Regions from separate parts of the Homo sapiens genome. Here region 1 is linked to region 2. Evidence: promoter capture Hi-C in human tissues and cell types (Jung and others, 2019). All regions are on one chromosome and are shown on one strand. Each heading gives the region's core, a stretch centred on a gene start or on the middle of the fragment in contact. The rest is flanking DNA. Distances are from core to core; before and after follow the strand shown. Region 1 overlaps ATP5PD (ATP synthase peripheral stalk subunit d). Region 2 holds the start of GRIN2C (glutamate ionotropic receptor NMDA type subunit 2C).

Region 1 (5,384 bases), core at 1,783-4,282, 180 kb before region 2:
GCACTTTGCAAGGCTGAGGTGGGTGGATCACCTGAGGTCTGGAGTTTCAGCCCATCCTGGCCAACGTGGAGAAACCCTGTCTCTACTAAAAATACAAAAATTAGGGCCGGGCGCGGTGGCTCACGCCTATAATCCCAGCACTTTGGGAGGCCGAGGCGGGTGGATCATGAGGTCAGGAGATCGAGACCATCCTGGCTAACAAGGTGAAACCCCGTCTCTACTAAAAATACAAAAAATTAGCCGGGCGCGGTGGCGGGCGCCTGTAGTCCCAGCTACTCGGGAGGCTGAGGCAGGAGAATGGCGTGAACCCGGGAAGCGGAGTTTGCAGTGAGCCGAGATTGCGCCACTGCAGTCCGCAGTCCGGCCTGGGCGACAGAGCGAGACTCCGTCTCAAAAAAAAAAAAAAAAATACAAAAATTAGCTGGGTGTGGTGGTGGGTGCCTGTAATCCCAGCTACTCCGGAGGCTGAGGCAGGAGAATCGCTTGAGCCTGGGAGGTGGAGGTTGCAGTGAGCCAAGATGATGCCACTGCACTCCAGCCCGGGGGACAGAGTGAAACTCCATCTCAAAAAAAAAAAAAAAAAAAGTGCACAACGTGTGCTGGTGCTGCTAGGGTATAATCCGATGTGAATAAGAAGGTGCAGGTGTATTACCAATCTAGTTGGAAGGGGATAGCCCTTTTAAGTTTGTAAAACTCTGGAGCAAGTTGCTGTGCACAATTTCATGTGACACTTTTAGCAGCCCTCTGGGGCAAGCAGGACTGATAATGCCCATTGTACACATAAGTAAATTTTAGCCTAGAGAGTGCTCTATTTAAGGCTTGTTGAAACTTAGGTGTGTGTCAGTTTCTGTCTACTGGAGAATCAGTGAATAAAACACAATCTGGGTGGAAATGTCTTTATTAACTTTTATGCAATAAGAGTGTTATTTTTAGTAATTTTTCCAGAGGCACATGGAGGGGATAAAGAGAGCTGGGGTTTGTTTTTTTTTTTTTTTTTGAGACAGAGTCTCACTCTGTGTCCAGGCTGGAGTGCAATGGCGCTATCTCAGCTCACTGCAACCTCCGCCGCCCAGGTTCAAGTGATTGTCCTGTCTAAGCCTCTTGAGTACCTGGGACTACAGGTGCATGCCATCACGCCCGGCTAATTTTTGTATTTTTTAGTAGAGGCAGGGTTTCACCCTATTGCTCAGGCTGGTCTTGAACTCCTGACCTCAAGTGATCCACCCACCTCAGCCTCCCAAAGTGCTGGGATTACAGAAATGAGCCACTGCGCCCGGCCAAGAGAGCTGGGCTTTTAAGGCTAAATAGGAGTTGGGAGAGAATGTATTTGTATGCCACATTGCACACTTTGAATTTGAAAAGCTACACTGTCCTTTCCTTTTCTTTTTGAGACGGACTCTTGCTGTGTTGCCCAGGCTAGGGTGCACTGATGCCATCTCAGCTCATTACAACCTCTGCCTCCTGGGTTCAAGTGATTCTTATGCCTCAGCCTCTGGAGTAGCTGGGATTATGGCGCGGGCCACCACGGCTGGCTAATTATTGTATTTTTAATAGAGATGGGGTTTTGCCATGTTGGCCATGCTGGTCTCGAACTCCTGACCTCAGGTGATCCAACCGTCTTGGCCTCCCAAAGTGCTGGGATTACAGGCGTGAGCCCACTGCGCCTGGCCGCACACCTTGAATTACCTTGAATTTGAAAAGCTACACTGTCTTTTTTTCTTTTTTTTTGAGTTGGAGTCTTGCTGTGTCTCCCAGGCTGGAGTGCAGTGATGCAGTCTCGACTCACTGCAACCTCCACCTCCTGGGTTCAAGTGATTCTTGTGAAGACTTGCATGTTTCTAAGATTTAAAGGATTCTCTCTAAGAGCTCTTATTTTGTTATTTATCATTTTTCCCAACTGAAAATTCACCTCATAAAAAAGCCTTGTTTTTATTTGACTTATTTTTCAGGATCCCAAAATGGCTGGGCGAAAACTTGCTCTAAAAACCATTGACTGGGTAGCTTTTGCAGAGATCATACCCCAGAACCAAAAGGCCATTGCTAGTTCCCTGAAATCCTGGAATGAGACCCTCACCTCCAGGTCAGTATGTTTCTGAGAGGGAACCCCATACTTGCCACTGAATCTAGAAACAAAACAGTATTAAGGAATTACATATGAATTCTTGATGCCCTTATGACAACATATAAAGAAATCCTTGCATTTTCATGATGATCTTAGGAGAGGAAAGTGTGGTGACCCTCCAGGCCATAGGAAGAAGGGATAGGAAAATTACCATGTGAATTTTCTACTGCTTATGAACAATCCTAACTTTTGCCTTTCCTTGTGGGCAGGTTGGCTGCTTTACCTGAGAATCCACCAGCTATCGACTGGGCTTACTACAAGGCCAATGTGGCCAAGGCTGGCTTGGTGGATGACTTTGAGAAGAAGGTGAGACTTCACACCTCTAAAGCACTGAGCTTGTAACATGCCTGTGGGTAGGGAGCAGGAACAGGGATAATTACATACACAGCATGACAGCCAGATCCCTAAGGAAGCTTAGGAAGGATGCGTATGGCCAAAGGCCTTGTGGTCGATTGAACTGTAAATAGGTGCAGGAATTTAGGCTCTGTTCATTCAGCAGTAGAGTGTAGCCTTAATCTGGGAGCCAGAGGGCTTTCTGATCAGCACAGGAGTTTTGACCTGCTCTGTTTCTGACCTGGGCCGGTTCACCCCTTCTTAGGCAACCTGGTGGTCCCCCGCTCCTGGGAGGTCACCATATTGATGCTGAACTTGGTGAAGACACCCGATCGGCATAACGCGCTACAGCCCAGAACTCTTGGGCTCAAGCAATCCACGTGCCTCAGCCAGGCATGCGCCACCACGCCCCAGGGGGCTTTCAAGTTAAATGTTTGCCCACCTCCTGGGTTCCTTTTAGCTTCCTTCCTGTCTCCCTTTGGAACAAACTGACTTTTTTTCTACTCTTTTCCTGTCCTTTTTCTTTTGAGACGGAGTTTTGCTCTGTCACCCAGGGTGGAGTGCAGTGGCGCAATCTCAGCTTACTGCAGCCTCTGCCTCCCAAGCTCAAGCCATCCTTCTGTCTTAGCCTCCTGAGTAGCTGGGACTACAGGTGCATGCCACCACCACACCTGATAAATTTTCGTTTTGTTTTTTTTTTTTTTTTGGTAGAGACAGGTTTTTGTCATATTGCTCAGGCTGGTCTCAAACTCTGGGCTCAGGCAATCCACCTCTCTGCTCTTCTTTTTTTTTTTTTTTTGAGTTGGAGTCTCACTCTGTCACTCAGGTTGGAGTGCAGTGGCGCCATCTCAGCTCACTGCAACCTCTTTCTCCCGGGCTCAAGCCTTCCTCCCACCTCATCCCCCCGAGTAACTGGGACCACAGCACCACCATGCCTGGCTAATTTTTTGTATTTTTGGTAGAGACGGGGTTTCGCCATGTTGCCCAGACTGGTCTCGAACTCCTGAGCTCAGGTGATCCACCCTCCTTGGCCTCCCAAAGTGCTGGGAGTACAGGTGTGAGCCACCATGCCCAGCCTCTGCTTTTTTTAACTGTCCCTTATAGCTGTAATTTCTCATCCATCTATCCTCCTCTGATATTTACACAAGTCTCAATATCCAGAGTTCATTTGCTTATTCATTCAAAGATGTGTATGGAGGGCCTACTCTGTGCCAGGTAGTGTTAAGTGCTGGAGCCATAACACTAAGCAGTCTTTTTTTTTTTTTTTTGAGACGGAGTCTTGCTCTGTCGCCCAGGCTGGAGTGCAGTGGGGCCATCTCAGCTCACTGCAATCTCCGCCTCCCAGGTTCAAGCAGTTCTCTTGCCTCAGCCTCCCATGTAGCTGGGACTACAGGTGCTGGCCACCTTGCACAGCTAATTTTTGTATTTTTAGTAGAGACGGGGTTTCACCATGTTGGTCAGGCTGGTCTCGAACTCCCGACCTTAGGTGATCCGCCCGCCTCAGCCTCCCAAAGTGCTGGGATTACAGGCATGAGCCACCGCACCCGGCTAACACTAAGCAGTCTTCTAAGGAGACCATTCATTACGCAGTGCTCCTTCCACCAGTCAGCTCCCTAGGGTTCCATGCAGAAGAGAAATCAGAATTTCTTTACAATTCAAGGTGCTAAGAGGCCATTTTTTGGTCATCAAGTCCAGCTGTCCTTTTCAGATGAAGAAAATGAAGCTTATCATCATAAAGAATTGTCCAGGGTTCCGAGTTAGTGATAGGGCTGAGAAGACCCTTGAGCTCCTGTTCCCAGTCTAATATTCTTTCTACTCCAGTATTGAGATGCGTATTCGTTTCCGCTTGGGACACAGAATGTCTTTCAGTATGACCTTTAAGGATTCGTAGCTTCCAGCCCTTTGAGCTCCTGGGTGTATTGGCGACGACTCACTGTCCTTGTGTTTGTAGTTTAATGCGCTGAAGGTTCCCGTGCCCTTGTGTTTGTAGTTTAATGCGCTGAAGGTTCCCGTGCCAGAGGATAAATATACTGCCCAGGTGGATGCCGAAGAAAAAGAAGATGTAAGTAGTTGAGGCTCCTGCTTATTCTAAAATTCTCTTGATCTTGACAGCTCTCTATTATAGCTAAGTTAAGTTAGAGTGAATTAAATGGAAGAGTTAACAGCCATATAAAGGAATGACTTGTCAATAAATGCAACAACATGGACGAATTTCAAAATAATTATGCGGAGTGAAAGAAGCCAACAAGAAAAAGAAGAGTATAGCATATGATTCCATCTTTGTAAGACTCTAGAAAATGTAGTTTGTCTACAGTGGCTGCCTGGGGATGGTTGAGAGGGGACTGCTGGTTTCACAGGTGGATACCTATATCAAAACTTATCAAATGGTGTTCTTTAAATATGTGCATTTTATCATATTTCAGATATACCTCAACAAAGCTGTTAGAAACAAGGAGTTGGAATTAGAAAAATTACCCAAGTAGTATTCAAATACCTAATTATTTGCTTGAAAGCACTGAAGGCCAACTATGGAACTCAGTGGCTCCACCAGAGAGAAGTCTGGCTAGGTGCTCAGGTGGCGTGTCCTGACCATTCAGTGGCTGAGCCCTGTGAAAACAGGCATTCTGTAGGTCTTCGGATGAGGAACTTGCAGAAGCAGCCGGGTGCTGCCATCCTAAGCTGGTTTTCCATATGGGCTTCTCTGTGAGTGTTAAGAAAAGCTGTGGTTTGCCTGTCAGAGTGAGCGCCCCCACTCAGGGTAACCACAGTTTCTCCATAGAGCAATAGGACAGCAGGAGTGGGCTGGGACGACTCCTACCTTAGCAGCTGCTGGGGTAGAATGCAGCCTGGTTTCAGAACTGAATTTCTCTTTCTTCTTAAAGGTGAAATCTTGTGCTGAGTGGGTGTCTCTCTCAAAGGCCAGGATTGT
Region 2 (5,572 bases), core at 2,144-4,643:
CCTCCCTTCCCCTTTTGTTACCCCCTCTCAGGCCTCTACTGCAGCGGCTGGGTGAAGAGAGGACCTACAGGTGTCATAGCCACAACCATGACTGACAGCTTCCTCACCGGCCAGATGCTGCTGCAGGACCTGAAGGCTGGGTTGCTCCCCTCTGGCCCCAGGCCTGGCTACGCAGCCATCCAGGCCCTGCTCAGCAGCCGAGGTCTGGGCCCCGATGCTGAGGTCCTGGGAGGTGGGGTGGGTGGTCCTTCTCTGGGCCTCACTCTTTGGGAGGGGGCTGTTCTGGGAGGGGTGAAGGAGGAGGTGTTGACAATCTCCCCTCTGCTTCAGGGGTCCGGCCAGTCTCTTTCTCAGACTGGGAGAAGCTGGATGCCGAGGAGGTGGCCCGGGGCCAGGGCACGGGGAAGCCCAGGGAGAAGCTGGTGGATCCTCAGGAGATGCTGCGCCTCCTGGGCCACTGAGCCCAGCCCCAGCCCCGGCCCCCAGCAGGGAAGGGATGAGTGTTGGGAGGGGAAGGGCTGGGTCCGTCTGAGTGGGACTTTGCACCTCTGCTGATCCCGGCCGGCCCTGGCTTGGAGGCTTGGCTGCTCTTCCAGCGTCTCTCCTCCCTCCTGGGGAAGGTCGCCCTTGCGCGCAAGGTTTTAGCTTTCAGCAACTGAGGTAACCTTAGGGACAGGTGGAGGTGTGGGCCGATCTAACCCCTTACCCATCTCTCTACTGCTGGACTGTGGAGGGTCACCAGGTTGGGAACATGCTGGAAATAAAACAGCTGCAACCAAGAGCCATGGTTGATGGGGGACTTTTTTTGGAAGGGTTGGGGTCGGGGGTCACCTTCTGGCCGTAGCTCCCCTACCATCACCAGGTGGCGCTGCAGAGACGGCTCCCTGCTCAGGGGCCTCATTGGGGGCTTGATGGGGCTCGGCAGCCAGGCCTGGCATAGCCACCCTTCCTTTCTCCGCTCGGCCCTGCTGTGGCTGCGGGTTGCCTGTCTTCTGTCCACACTAGGGCTGCCCGGGACCGGGACCGGGACCACCCCTCCCTGGGGAGCCCTCAGTACAATCAAAACAGAAAAGAAATGGGAGCGGGGGACTGAGAAGCAGCTTGTCCCCTGTACCTCTGGGTGCCCCAGGCGAGTCTAGCCTGGGGCCCATTCTTTGGCTCTCAAAGCCTTCCTGCTTCCGTTTCCAGTCAGACACACTGGCCTTTAAAAATAGTGCCTCAGTCTCCCTAGGGCTTTGCAGTGTCCAGAGAGTGGTCACTCCCTTTTATGGCAGCCCTCAAGATGCTGCCTCGCTGTATAACCTGAGGGGTCCTCGAAATTGGCCCAAGGTCACACACTCGTGAGCTGCGGGCTCAAACCCAGGCTCCGGGCAGGCTGGTGTGTCCTCCGAGGCGCACTTGCCCCGAGTGTCAGGTCTGGGGACGCGGTTCCGGAGAGGGGAGAGGGGCCCGGGAATGCGGCGGGAGGGGCCTCGAGGGGCAGCGGGCCGGGCCGGGCCGGGGCGGAGGTGGCGGGCCCCGGCGGGGCGGGCCCTCGCGGGCGGCGGTGAGAGCTCCCGCACAGTCGGCTGCGAGCTCTGGGAGCAGGAGGCGCGGTGCGCAGCCCAGCCCGGGACGGAGCCGGGCGCCGTGCGAGCTTCGGGAGGGTCGCGGGGCGCAGGGGCGGGTCGGGGCCAGCGGACCAGGCCGCGCCACCCGCCCCCGCCCCCGCCCCGCCGCGCCCGGGCTCCGGCGCCCGCGGAGCTGAGACTGAGCGCGCCAGCCCTCCGGGGCCGAGGCTCTGGGACAGACACCGCGAGGGAGGCGGCCGGCGCGGGCTCTCGTCGCGGGCGCAGCGCCCCTTCCCCTCGGTAAGTGGCGAGCGGCGGGCGAGGGGCACCAACTTCGCCGCCAACTTGGGGCTGGGTTCCCGCGGCGCGCGAGCAAGGACGGCGGAGACAGAGGCGGGACACCCGGGGGGTTGGACCCACGCAGGACTCTCGGGGCTCAAGGAGGGGGCGGCTGGAGGACCCGGACCCTCAAGAACCTGGCCTTGGGTTTTGACCCGGGCGGCCGGAGAGAAGGCGAAGAAGAGGCCGAGCAGACAGGCGCGCGGCGGACGCGAGAGAAGGACGCGGGCGAAGCGTCCAAGACGTTCGTCCCCAGGGTCGCCGAGCCCTCCTCCTCCTTCGCTTGGCGCGGCAGCACCGCGGGACCAGGGGAGTCTGGGCTGCCGCGGACCCAAACTGTTGCTGCTGGAAGCCGCCGGGGCGGAGAGCGGGGAACAGGGCCGGGAGTGGGGGCCGGGGCTGGGATCCACCAGAGCGAGGGGTTGGAAAGGAGTCGAGAAGGTGAAAGGGGGCTGTGCGGCTCCCCAGCCCAGTGCCCCAGTTTCCCTAGGTCTGCTGGGCACCTGCTGCGCACTCGCCTCGGCGCCCAGACCCCTTCCCCCGCCGCGAGTCCCGCTTCTTCCCCTTCCAGCTCTGCCCCATCTCCTTTGCCCCAGCCTAGCTCTCTCCTTCCTGCGACCTGGGAGAATCGGAGTGGGCTTCCAGAGTAGTGGCATCTTGCAGATGCTGGCCCGTGCCCGGCTCCCGGGCTTCCAGAGCGCAAAGGGAAGGGTAGGCAGAGAGGGCACTGGGCGAGCAAGACCTGGCGCTGGGCCCTGGCTGCGCACCAGCCGCCTGCGCCGGTCTCTGGGGGCTTCGCCCAGGATCCCCGACGGCGGGGAGGGGAAGCCCCGAGTCTCCTGTTTCCTGCCTACGCGGGCAGGGCGGGGACACGCGGAGCAAAGGCACCCGGCAACCTGAACCCCCAGGTGCGTCCCGCGACCCTGCAAGGAGCTGCTGGGTGAGCAAGACGGGAATTCCCGCCAGGCCCTGATGCCCACCCCATTCGTCCACTCGGTTTCCCAGCCCTGGTCGTCCAAGGGGACTTCTGGCTCGGTCCCCCAGCCCTCGGATGGTGGCGTTATCTTAGTTCAGTCCCTGACCCCGGGCCACAGGAAAATCGAGGAAAGACACTTATTTGGGGAGGGTACCATTCCGCTGGCTGTATTTCAGAGCCCGTCCAGGTCTTGGCGGTGCTAGTGACTTTGAGCCTGTTTCTAAACTCCCGAAGAATAAGAGCGTGCCAGGGGCAGGTAGGCAGGTCCGGGACACCTGGGTTCGCCCAGGGCCCCCGGGCGGGCCTGGGATGGTACTGGGGCCGCCTGCCAGGCTGGCTTGGTCCCCCCACTGCGGGACTCGGGGTCACGACCCAGCTTGGGGGAGTGGGGGTGGGGGCCCCGGAGCCGCGGACGCCGGCGGGGGGCAGCGTGGGGCGGGGGGCGCCGGGTGCGTGGTGCTCAGCTTGGCCGCCAGGAGGCGTGGCGCGGGTCCCCGCCCGGAGCCGCCGCCGCCGCCGCCGCCGCCGCATCGCGAGTGTCCTTGAGCCGCGGGTGACGGTGGCTCTCGCTGCTCGCGCCCCCTCCTCCCGCGGGGGGAGCCTGATGCCACGTTCCCTATGAATTATTTATCGCCGGCCTAAAAATACCCCGAACTTCACAGCCCGAGTGTAAGAGATTGCTGCGGAGGGGAGGGGGCGGGGCGTCCCGGTGGCCAGGGGGAGTCCGGGCGGGGTCCGCGGAGACGGGGGCCGTAGCCTTGGAGGAGCAAGAACTCCGTGCCCCCAGCAGTGGGGCAAGCTAGAACGGCGGTCCTCTCCCCTGGCGCCTGGGTTCGGGTTTTGGCTGGGCAAAAGGGAGGGAGGGAAACCCGACGGCAAAGGAGGGGCGGCTCACCGGAAGGGCAGGGGGTCCGGGGGTTCTGCTGGTGGGTGGGGAGGACTCCTGCGACAGAGTTTCCTAGCCTGGGAGAGGGAGAGCCATCGGTATCTCAGATGTGAGCGGGTATGAGTGCGGGAGTGTGCATGTGTGTGCAGGTCCGTGCCAGGGGGTCTGGCTGAGCTGTGAGGACCCGGGAAGGAGAAGGCCCCCAGCCTGGGAAGGTGCTCAGACCCTTCTAGATGCTGCTGTGTCCTGCAGGACTGACCACTGCCATCCTCTCTGGGGCTCTTTGGGGATCTCTGTGTTTGTCAAACATTAGTTTAAGGGCTGTTTGTGGAAGGGGTGAGACCCTGAGTGGGTGGGTGGGCAGAGGTCTCTGAGACAATGTGTCTGCCCTCAAGGAGCCCGCAGTCCAGTGTGGGGCAGGGTGTTAATGAGTGCACACACACCTGCCGCAGGGCAGAATGGAGGGGTGGAGGGGACCACTACACAGAGCTCCCCACCCAGGAGGGGAAGCCAGGGCAGGGGGAAGAAGGGCAGGTGCCCCAGCCTGGCCGCAGTCCCTGCGCCTAGAGCCTGAGGCATCAAGGCAGGTGCCTGTGGGAGAGGGATTTCAGCTGGGCCCTGAAGGAGAGTAGACTTCTGTTGGGATGAGGACATTCCAGCCTGGGGGATGCTGGAACGAGGCCTGGAGATGAGGGCAGAATGGGGCTGTTTGGCCAGCAGACTGGCAGAGCTGTGGGTTCCAGGGATGGGAGGACGGTTGGTTGCGGTCAGGGTGCAGAGGGCTCTGTCTATGGGACTAAGCTGTCTGGACTTCATTTGTGGGCACCAGGGTGTAGCTGTCCTGTGTGAGGAGGGAGCAGTGGCTGGAGGAAGGCTTCAGCAGTGCAGTGGGGCTGGCGGGGGTGGGTAGGTGGGAGGTGGGGAGGGGGAGGCAAGGGAGGAGATTGTGGCGGGGGAAAGTGGAGTTTGTCCCTCCTACCTCTGTAGGGTGGCTGGGTTAGACGGGGTGATGAGACAGAATTCGGAAGCTCCTTGAGTCTGCCCCTTGCTATTTGGAGCCCAGGGACTTACCTAGTTTTGGCCCCTGGCTCTGGAGGTATTCTGGGATCCCTCCCCCATTTTAGGCCCCTTGATTAGAGGTACAACCTGCCTCAACTCCCCCACCCCCCGACCCCCAACCCCCAACCCAGCAGGACACCTTCCCTTTGGAGAGAGTCTCTGGTGTCCCCAGCCCATGAGGATGTCTTCCTATTGGAGAGAGTGGGAATGAGAACATTTTCAGCTATTACCAGACCCTTATTCCTTCATGTGAATGAGCTCTAGGTCCTTGGCTAAGAAAAGGTCTTGACTGGGGAGGGTGGAAGCTTGAGGGGAGTAGGGAGTTGGAAAGAGAAATACATTTAGAAAAAGGAGGTTGGAGATGCTAATGGCAGACTGCTTATTCTGCCCCTTTGCAGTTGAGGGAGAGCCTGGGCCCTTCATCCAGGGTCACACTGTCCAAAGAAATAAAATGGGAGCCACAAGTACAATTTAAAATTTTCTAGTAACCACATTAAAACAAATAGAAACAGGTGACGTTAATTTTAATAGTATATTTTCTTTGACTAAACATACCCCAAATGTTATTATTTCAACATGTAATCAAGATACAAGTGTTTACGAGATTTTTTACATTCTTTTTCCCTGTTGTCTTCAATGTGCAGTGTGGCATGAAATTTTACACTGATAGCAAACTCCGTTTGGGTGAGAGATGTTTCTGGTACCCAATAGTCGTGTATGACTGGCGGCTCCTATACTGGGCAGCACAGATCTAGAGCTCAT

What was found. Contacts are between HindIII fragments. The study calls those that stand out against the background at their distance.
Region 1: a contact is called between a fragment that was not itself captured here and the fragment with the promoter of GRIN2C in region 2, in 2 of the 25 tissues and cell types used here (lymphoblastoid cells and thymus).

Annotation. Positions count from the first base shown.
Region 1 is chr17:75,039,225-75,044,608 of GRCh38, reverse strand. ATP5PD (ATP synthase peripheral stalk subunit d) reads left to right here. Exons shown (of 6, transcript NM_006356.3): 2 at 1,950-2,080; 3 at 2,332-2,428; 4 at 4,446-4,517; 5 at 5,338-5,384. The coding sequence starts at 1,959. It also overlaps a transcript of KCTD2 not described here and the pseudogene RN7SL573P. Among named protein-coding and RNA genes, the nearest start is that of ATP5PD, 5.1 kb to the left of the region's middle. RefSeq lists an enhancer at 2,772-3,342. The HindIII fragment of the contact is 3,720 bases long and covers 1,173-4,892 here.
Region 2 is chr17:74,857,706-74,863,277 of GRCh38, reverse strand. GRIN2C (glutamate ionotropic receptor NMDA type subunit 2C) reads left to right here and starts at 3,393. Exons shown (of 13, transcript NM_000835.6): 1 at 3,393-3,534. FDXR (ferredoxin reductase) reads left to right here. Exons shown (of 12, transcript NM_024417.5): 11 at 32-202; 12 at 331-781. The coding sequence ends at 461. RefSeq lists an enhancer at 1,868-2,566. The HindIII fragment of the contact is 10,960 bases long and covers 1-5,572 here.